2 separate regions of the Homo sapiens genome follow, and region 1 is linked to region 2. The links are contacts of gene promoters, found by promoter capture Hi-C in blood cells and fetal thymus (Javierre and others, 2016). All regions are on one chromosome and are shown on one strand. The core of a region is centred on a gene start or on the middle of the fragment in contact, and the rest is flanking DNA. Distances in the headings are between cores, read along the strand shown. Region 1 overlaps ODR4 (odr-4 GPCR localization factor homolog). Region 2 holds the start of IVNS1ABP (influenza virus NS1A binding protein).

Evidence for each region. The method cuts DNA at HindIII sites, captures the fragments that hold promoters and counts their contacts. A CHiCAGO score of 5 or more calls a contact.
Region 1: a fragment that was not itself captured here is called in contact with the fragment with the promoter of IVNS1ABP in region 2 in 1 of 17 cell types (fetal thymus); the score reaches 8.2 in fetal thymus.

The regions. Positions count from the first base shown.
Region 1 is chr1:186,380,190-186,385,243 of GRCh38, reverse strand. It overlaps ODR4 (odr-4 GPCR localization factor homolog), which reads right to left. Exons shown (of 14, transcript NM_017847.6): 3 at 2,088-2,222. Among named protein-coding and RNA genes, the nearest start is that of ODR4, 6.9 kb to the right of the region's middle. The HindIII fragment of the contact is 1,244 bases long and covers 2,246-3,489 here.
Region 2 is chr1:185,315,950-185,321,028 of GRCh38, reverse strand. IVNS1ABP (influenza virus NS1A binding protein) reads left to right here and starts at 3,786. Exons shown (of 15, transcript NM_006469.5): 1 at 3,786-4,076. CBSLR (CBS mRNA stabilizing lncRNA) reads right to left here and starts at 3,577. Exons shown (of 4, transcript XR_007066771.1): 1 at 2,752-3,577. RefSeq lists enhancers at 2,768-2,847, 3,098-3,197, 3,847-4,460 and silencers at 3,528-3,837, 4,298-4,357. The HindIII fragment of the contact is 11,176 bases long and covers 1-5,079 here.

The DNA.
Region 1 (5,054 bases), core at 1,618-4,117, 1.1 Mb before region 2:
TTAACCTCAAATTTTTAAGCCCACTTACTGATACTGGGCATCTTTGCTATATCTAATTTTACCTTAAAATAATATTGATTAAAAATCCTAGTACATCTTTCTGCATTCATAGAATTATTTGTTTAGGACAAATCCCTTGAGGTGGATAACTGGTTTAAGAAGTTATACATATTTTTAAGGTTTTTGATACATACTACCATGATATCTCCATATCTGTATTTCCCTTCACATGATTGTGGCTAGTTCTTAATACCACATGGATTTTTTTCTATCATCTACACTCAGAGATTAGAGTGTTTTGGTTAGCTTTTGATTACTTAATGTACAAGCAATCAATCAGAGTACAGTCTTAGAAAATTAGGTACCATGCTCTAATCCTTAATCTACTTGCACTATGTCTTTCGGTGTTTTCCTCTGATTTAATAAATTCTATTTACTATAGTAGCACAATTCTGACAAATAAAGTTTTCATATTTAGCATAAGGAGCCTGCATATCTTTTCAAAATCACCAACACAAAAAAGTAACCATTTTTTAGGAGATGGAGGTGAGAGCAAGAAAGGGGAAAAAGTAAAATTAACCTTTTCTTTCTAGAGGTAAAAGGTTAAGCTAATTTACTATATAAATTCATTAATATTCTGTGTGTGTGTGTGTGTGTGTGTGTGTGTGTGTCATATACAATTTTATGAGAGACCAAAAGCAAAATTAGAGTAGAAAGTTATTTACAAACCATTGGGAATTTAACTTTACATTACTTAATATTTTCTTTAGAAGATAGTTGCCATGTTTGTCCCCTTAAACACCATGTTGAAATGTGAACCCAAGTGGGGCCTAATGGAAGGTGTTTGGGTCATGGGGCAGATCCCTCATTAATGGCTTGGTTCCATCCTCAGAGCAGTGAATGAGTTCTCGCTATATTTGTTCCTACGAGAGCTGGTTGTTAAAAAAAAAAGCCTAGCACCTCCCAACCCCTTGCTTCCTCTCTGGCCCAGTGATCTTTACACACCAGCTCCAATCTGCCTTCTGACATGAACAGAAGCAGCCTGAGGCTTTGACCAGATGCTCAATCTTGCAGCCAGCAGAATCATGAGCCAAACAGGCCTTTTTTTCTTTATAAATTACTCAGTCTTAGGTATTCCTTAATAGCCACCCAAACAGACTAAAACAATAATAATTAAATACTGGATTTCTTCGTTTTGTTTTGTTGAGACAGAGTCTCGCTTTGTCGCCCAGTCTGGAGTGCAATGGTGTGATCTTGGCTCATTGCAACCTCCGCCTCCCAGGTTCAAGCAATTCTCCTGCCTCAGCCTCCCAAGTAGCTGGGATTACAGGCACCTGCCACCACACCTGGCTAGTTTTTCATATTTTTACTAGAGACGGGGTTTCACCATGTTGGCCAGGCTGGTCTTGAACTCCTGACCTCAGGTGATCCACCCACCTTGGCCTCCCAAAGTGCTGGGATTACAGGCAAGATTTTATTTTTTTTTTAAATATAACTACACACTGCTCCATAATCAAACACATACACAGACACAAATATATGTCCATATATATATATATATATATCTACATACACAGAAACACGTTTGAGTTTAAAAGATTTAAAGATTTAAAGTTGATTGGAAAAGGAAATAAATCTTTTATTTATTAAAGAAAATTCTTTTTCTTAAAACAAACAAACAAAAACGCAGAATGTGCAAGTCTGTCACATAGGTTTACGTGTGCCATGGTGGCTTGCTGCACCTATTGACCTGTCCTCTAAGTTCCCTCCCCTCACCCCCAACCCCAGAAAAGGAAATAATTCTATTTTTACCTTATTCTAACATTATTTATTTGATGATATATAATTCATTCAATAAATACTTGTAAGTGAATTAATTTAGTCATTATTCCCACTCACCCATCCCAAATCTGTTTCTTCCTCGTGTAATGCCAACAGTATCCTCCTAGACACCCAGACTAAAAATCTCAGTCATCTTTAGCTACTTTCTCCCTATGTCTCTTCTCTCTACTCATTCACTAAATCTTCTTGATTCTAGCTCTTTTTTGAAATAAAACTTAAACATATAAACAAAAAAATAAGATAACCTGGCAGGCATGTTCTGTGGCCCATTCTTCATCCAAGTTATCCAACTTAGCTTTGGGATGTTTGAGGTTCTCACTTTGCTCCTCTTTGGGTGGCGTTCTAGTGGCAAGAATCACATAATCCTTTTGTGACGAACACTTCAACAACAAATTAAAAAGCTTGTTAGAGTGATATCTGATTCCTCAATCTAATTAGAGTGATACCTAAATTCCTTAGCTTTTATGACATGCAAAAACTGAGTAATATTTGTAACAGGTTAAATCATTAATACCCACATTATAATGGAAGCTAAAGGGAAGCTAATTTTCAAGGATGGCCTTACAATCTTTCCCTCACATGTTGTTTATCTTTTAATGTATTTAATATCAGCTTCTTATTTATTTGGACAACTCAAATGTAAATCATGGAGTGGTCCCTAAAAATGGTTTACTGGATGAGTGAATGAATTACATTAACTAAAAAGTAATATGCTTATTCAGTTTTCTAGTTATATTTGTTTTATAAGTTATAAATGAACAGATCGGAAAATATTAGTAAAATGAAACAACAAGTGACCTTTTGTATCTTATTTTAATTGAAATGATGACAGTAGGGAACTTCCACATACATTTCCACAGAATAACAAAGGGGATTTGGGACACAATTTAAAGTGATACAGATTCTATGTTCCTCAAGTTTTTTGTTTTGTTTTGTTTTTTGTTCTTTGTGTGTGTGTGTATTTATTTATTTATTTAGAGACAGGGTCTTGCTCTAATGCCCAGGCTGGAGTGCAGTGGTGTGATCATAGCTCACTGCAACCTTGCACTCCTGGGCTCAAGCAATCCTCCCCCCAAGTAGTCTCCCAAGTAGCTAGGACTACAGGCTCAAACAATCAGCCATAATGCCTGGCTTTTTTTTTTTTTTTTTTTTACTTTTTTGTAGAGACAGAGTCTTGCTATGTTGCCCAGGCTAGGTCAAACTCTGACCTTCAAGCAATCCTCCCACCTCGGCCTCCCAAAGCATTGGGATTACAGGCATGAGCCACCACACCCAATCTGTTCTTCAGCTGTAATATCAGTTAAGTAGTAACCAAAGTTGGGAGATCTAAAAATAAATGTAGGGGAACATTCAATAGCTCAGTTTCACTACAGTGAAAGTTTCCTATAAAAAAAGAGTGAAAATAACACTGCTAATGCAAGTTAGCATTGTATCTTCCCCACACATGACCTGAAACTCTGATCATTAGTATCATCTTGGGATAGAAAATAAGAGTAACTATTCCTACAGGTTATTTTCAGGAAGTTACATTCAAATAAACACAGGAAAAGAAAGTAGGTCTCAGTTAAGAAGGCTCCTCTTTTCTTCATAAAATGTATAACTTTGAAAAGAAAAAGAAACTGACAGAGACCAGGAAACAGGCAAGCTTAAGAGGAAGGAGAGGAAAAAGTAATGAACTCTGGAAGAAAAAGCACGTAGAATACTGAAAGGAATGAATTGCTCTGTCCGTGAGCAATACATACTACAGCATAAAAAGAGATAGAAGGAAGGCCTTAGGCCGGGCGCGGTGGCTCACGCCTGTAATCCCAGCACTTTGGGAGGCCGAGGCAGGCGGATCACGAGATCAGGAGATCGAGACCATCCTGGCTAACACGGTGAAACCCCGTCTCTACTAAAAATACAAAAAATTAGCCGGGCGAGGTGGCGGGCGCCTGTAGTCCCAGCTACTCGGGAGGCTGAGGCAGGAGAATGGCGTGAACCCCAGGGGGCGGAGCCTGCAGTGAGCCGAGATTGCGCCACTGCACTCCAGCCTGGGCGACAGCGAGACTCCGTCTCAAAAAAAAAAAAAAGAAGGAAGGCCTTAAATTATGAGACACTCATTTGTAAGATGGCAGTTTGCCTGAGCTTTAGAAACAACCTTTATCCAGTTAAGACAAATTTAGAAGAGGGTCTTTCTCCCTGACTTTTTATCTCTACTGATCACATCTTTCTCTAAGACTCTTCTTCTCTTAAATGTTTTAAACAAAGAGAAAGAAAAAAACTTAAATAGAAAACTCCTAACAAAAAGAGCCCCACATTACAACTGAATTAAAAAGAAATTCACACTGTTCTCAAGAGAGGCAGTCTGGCTGTCTAATGAGAGGCCTCACAGAGTGGTGCTACCTGGTTGAACCATGTAGATCTGCCCTCTGTCTTGCAAATTAAGAAATCTGATTTGTAAAAATTCTGAAAATGAGCCTGTCTTTCATGGCTAGACTGACATTGATTAAGTTTATTCAGAATGATGTAGAAAACTAAAATGTCATGAAGGCATCTGAACACTTGAGTCCTCTGGACAGTGTATTCTTTATAAGTAGATAACATGGGGCATCAAATTATAAAAGAAAGTAGCTTGGGAATATGGGTAGAATCAGAATAAGGAAAGTTAATTATGTAATTTGAAGATTCTAAGGCATCAGGCTAAGATATCTAGAAAGAAAATTGTCCCAATAAGAGCTTTATTGGCTAGTAGGCCTCAAAATCAAGTCCTTGGGCCAAAGTGCACTCTCCTGTGTTTGGATGGACACAGTCAGCTTGCCTGTGTGACTCTCCTTTTTTTTTTTTTTTGGCTTTGTACTGCTGACCGGTCCCTCCTGCCGATTAACACGTTCTTCCTTCACTCATAAGAAATCAGTGGCATGGGTTTTAAAATAAGTATCTGAATCTCTGTTCCATTTTGTGTTTTTAAGACTCAGCTCTAAGAGGAAATTAGAATTTGTCTAATTTCCAAATTTTTCCCAATCCCTCTCCCTCCCTATTGATCCAACAACAACAACAAAAAATTCAGTAAGATGGGTACTATAGCTTACAACAAAAATATGACCACTGTTGCCATAAGTCTGATATAAGACAACACAAATTAGAACAGGAATAAAATTTTCAAAAGCTTCTTTTGTAAAGAACTGGACAACCAGATATTAAAAAGATTAGAAGGGAATACAAAACACTTTGGA
Region 2 (5,079 bases), core at 2,537-5,036:
AAGGAACAAACTCCGGACACGCTGCCTTTAAGAACTGTAACACTCACCGCTAGGGTCCATGGCTTCATTCTTGAAGTCAGTGAGACCAAGAACCCCCCAATTGTGGACACATAAGGACCTGCATTTCTAGGAAGAATACACAGGTGATTCCAAAGAATGTGTTCAGTGGACCACACTTAAAAAATGAACTAAGGTTTTATGAGTTGAGCTGTGTTCCCTCAACATTTGTATGTTAAAGTCCTAACCCCCAGTATCTCAAAATATGACCTTATTTGGAAACACAGTAGTTGCAGGTTTAGTTAAAATGATGTCATACTGGAGTAGGGTGGGCCCCTAATTCAATTAACCCTGGTGTCCACAGAAAAAGGGGAAATCTGAACAACAGATACCCAGACAGGGAGAACATGTGAAAACTGGAGTTATGTTGACAAGCCAAGGAACTACCAGAAGTTAGGAGAGTGGCCTAGAGCCTTCAGAGGGAATAGGGCCCTGACAATACCTTGATCTCAGACTTCTAGCCTTCCGAACTGTAAGACAAATTTCTGGAGGGTTTTTGTTTTTGTTTTTTTAGAAACAAGGTCTTACTCTGTTGTCTGAATGCAGTGGCACGATCATAGCTCACTGCAGTCTTGAACTCCTGGGCTCAAGTGATCCTCTCCCCACCACCAGTAGCTGGGCTTATAGGTGCAAGCCATCATGCTTGACAACTTTCTGTTGTTTAAGCCATTCAGTCTGTTATGGCAGCCCTAGCAAACTAATACATCAAGAATAAACAAAACACAAGTCAGTTAAGGATGGAGACAACATCTGAAGCAGGATCAGGGTGAATAAAGAAAAGATGGCAGATTGACACCAATTCCTGATTATCTTTCTCAGGACCTGACACAAAATAGGTATGCAAGAAATTCATAATTTTTATTAAGCACTCTCCAAATAAATCTTACCTAAGTATAGTAGTCACCCCCACCCCCTTATGCCTGGTGGATGTGTTCCAAGACACTCAGTGGATGCCTGAAACCTTAGTATTGAACTCTAAATGCACTATGTTTTTTCCTATACATACATACCTATGATAAAGTTTCACTTATAAATTAGGCACAGTAAGATATTAACAACAATAATAATAAAATAGAACAGGCTGGGCGCCATGGCTCATGCCTGTAATCCCAGCACTTTGGGAGGCCGAGGTGGGCAGATCACCTGGGGTCAGGAGTTCGAGACCAGCCTGGCCAACACAGCAAAACCCTACCTCTACTAAAAATACAAAAATTAGCCAGGCGTGGTGGCGGGCACCTGTAATCCCAGCTACTCGGGAGGCTGAGGCAGAAGAATCACTTGAAACCTGGAGGCGGAGGTTGCAGTGAACTGAGATTGTGCCATTATAGTCCTGGTTGGGAGACAAGAAGCTCTGTCTCAAAAAATAATAATAATAAAATAAAACAATTTTAAGAGTGTACTGTAATAAAAGTTATGTATGGTCTCCCTCTCAAAGCATCTTAGTGTACTGAACTCACCCTTCTCCTTCTTGTGATGTGAGATGATAAAATACCTACATGATGAGATGAAGTGAGGTGAATGACATAAGTATTGTGACATAAATAGCAAATTCCAGAAATAAACGATTCATAAGTTTTAAATTGTGCACCATTCTGAGGAGCACAGTCTGCTCTGTCCCTGCCCAGATTGCCATTAGCCAGTTGCTGTCTGGGTTGTCAGACTGTTGCAGTGTGACAGTGCTTGTGTTCATATAACTATCATTTTATGTAATAATACCCCCCAAATGCAAGAGTAGTGATGTAACATTTTTGGGCCATGGTTGACAAAATCTTGGAAAGTGAAACCAAGGATAAGGGGGACTGCTATATTAAGAGCAAAATCTTACAACATAATGTGTTACTTTAAGAGGTAGAAATTAACCATCAGGTTCCCTGAAAGGCATAAATGGAATGCATAAGTTATGCTATTATTCATAGAGAAGGTAATAAGTAAATTTGAAATTCCATACAAAGCAAAAATACAATGAGTGTGGGCACACTGTAGCTTTAAGAAAAGTGTTGACTGTTTCAGGTCACAAAGACACTATTTAGAGTATAGCAAGTGTGACCATGTGTCCAACAGGCCAGCAGTCATGTGTCTACGCAGAGTGGGCAATTCATACTCTCCCACTGGAAGGATGAAACCCATTGTATTAAAGAGCTTAAAAGTACGTACCCTGATAGTTTCATTTGTAAGAAAAGTAAACATTGCTGTCAGTTATTATCAGCAAGACAAAACAAGAGCACAGTGTCAAATGTCAGTCTTTTTCTCCTTAAGAAAGATATAAAAAATCACTCGAATAGACATCTTAGTTCTTGTTTCCTCCTACAATTAATTGTCCGGGGGCGGGGGGACGGGGTGCGGGCGGGGCGAGGGAGACATACAAGAAATCTGTGAGAAAAAAAGGGGCGGGGGAATAAGTCTCCTTGCCTCAAGATTTTAGAAAAAAAGTTGTAAACCTATTGCAGATGAAGGCTCCCACAATTTATTTTTCCTGCTTCTATAAGCATAAATAGTTAATGATAAAAATGGTAAGAGGCATTGACAAAGAGCTCCTAGAATGTCTACAAATTAAGGTGAGTGATCAAACACAAGGTTAGGCCTAGACAGCTTAAGTGTCCTCCACAAATCAGGATAAGCGTTAACAGGACATTAACCTGGAAGCCTTTACCAAACTCTAATTTGGATATAATTTTACCTCACTAAATCCCTCACCTTCAATCAAAACTCCTTTCCCACGTGCCCTTCAGAGTCCACGAAGTTGCTGCCAGATCCCAGCTTAAATCACGTTTCGCTTTCACAGATCTCCCTCCCGGGCAAGGTGGTGGGGTGGATAATGAAGTTTGGCACCTGGTATAAAGGGCCCCAGTAGGTTAGGATAGGAACTACCACTTCTCAGGTGTGTTTTCTTTTTCCGGAAGAGGGCAAGACCAGTAGAGAACTGACTCAGCGTCTCCGACACGAGGAGAGCTGCACGCAGACAAAACAGACCCGGGGGGTGAAAAGTGGAAGTAAACTGGTGTTTGTGGCACCACTGATTTACACCTTCTCTGACTTCTCCAATATTTTTTTCCCCAAGTGACTCAATCTTCTCACCCAAACCAGGCCAAATGAGGGGTTAGTTGTTCGACTTCTTCTCAGAGTGCCTCTCTTCTTCCTCACACTCTCCACGCCTCCTCTCCGCACCCGCCACTTCCCCCCCGACCCTTAAGTTAAGGGCTCATGCCCAACTAGATCCTAATGTCCACGACGAGCAGCTCCAGTCTAGGGGGGGTTGCCTAGAAGTAGGTCTGACGCCGAGCAATCTAATCTCCCACGTCTGATCTCTCAGGCTATTGTGCCTCGAGGGGAAGTCAGAACAGGTGAGGGCGGCTTGAGGGAACCAGTTCCGGGACAGGCAACGCACAGGGCGGCGAAAGTGAGGGTGCGGGGCAAGGAACGGAGGGAGGGACAAAGGCGCGATAAGAGGAACGAGGGCGCCCCCCGAGCGCCGCCTATCTCCTCAGGATCACCTTGCGCTGACCTAGTTACACCGAGAAGGAAGGAACCCCAGTAGACCAGGGAGGAAGGCGGGGCGGGATGTGGGCGGGGCCGCGGGTGGGGCGGGGCTTAGAGTGGGATCTTTATGGAGCTCGCCTGTGATTTGCAGATGGATTCGAGACGGAAGCGGGCTGGGAGGCGTCGGCGGCGGCAGCGCACGTGGTGACGTGCGAGGGGGTGCGGCGCGAGCGGTCGGCGGCGGCGGAGGCAGTGTCTCCCGGTCGCGCGTGGAGGTCGGTCGCTCAGAGCTGCTGGGCGCAGTTTCTCCGCCTGCTGCTTCGGCGCGGCTGTATCGGCGAGCGAGCGAGTTCCCGCGAGTTCTCGGTGGCGCTCCCCCTTCCTTTCAGTCTCCACGGACTGGCCCCTCGTCCTTCTACTTGACCGCTCCCGTCTTCCGCCGCCTTCTGGCGCTTTCCGTTGGGCCGATTCCCGCCCGCTTCCTCCTGCTTCCCATCGAAGCTCTAGAAATGAATGTTTCCATCTCTTCAGAGATGAACCAGGTAATACGCGCTGGTTCTACGAACGACAGATGAGGGAGACGGCGCGGCTAGAATCCGAGAAGAAGGGATGGCGCCGGCGGATGGGAAGAGGGTGGGAGGCGCGGAAGCGGTGTCCTCATCAGGGGAGGCAGCCCCAAGCGGCCGCCGCCGCCCTCTGGGACGTGAAGCCCGCGCCGCGCTGGGCCCGCGCTCCAGCGCTGCCATGGTTGCCAAGTTGCGTTGGCGGCCGAGAGCGGGCGCCGGTCGCCTCGGAGAGCGCGGAGGCTGGAGCCCCTTTGCTACACTGGCGCGGGTGAGGCAGGCTGGGAGGAACAAGAGTTTTTTGTTCGAAGGGTTTTGGGGGGCCTGGGTTAGGGCGCCGCGGGCGGGGATGACCCGCCGGAAGGAGGGCGCGGGACTCCCCGTTCTTGCTGTCAGGAACGGACGCCTCGCCTCGGGTTTGCCTGGGGTTTGGGATTCTCTTCTGGAAGAGCTCTCGAGACTCGGCTCGTGTGGGCGGGCAGCCAGCCCCGGGCCTGGAGTAGGGTGGCACGGAGTCCCCGATCGCCGTGGGCCGCGGGGTCCTTTGTTCCCGCTCCACGTTGCCCGCTTTTCTTGCCAAGCGCGGGGAGAAGGGGGCGGGAGGAGGGAGGGAGCGGCTGCCCTGACGTGTCGGTACTGAGTGACTGCGGGGCTGGCCAATCCGGGGCGGGGGTGTGCGGGTGCTGGGGGCCTCGCCTCGCAGCCTGCGGAGTGGGCGCCGGCCTGGCTGCGCGAGGAGGAAGGCCTGGGACGCTCTTTCTTTTTTATGAAAGAAATCAGTGGCAAGATTTGCTCTTTTTCCGTCCCTCCACGCTTTTGGTTAAGTGTCTCTGATTATAAGCTCTTGATGATAGGAAGGTATCAGGCTGAGGGTTGAACCTAGGGTAACTTGAACCACTACTTGAGAACTACATTTACTTTTTCCCCCAATAGGTAGTGGACATATCTATTGGTTTGAGACAGCTGACATTTCAAGGAGAAA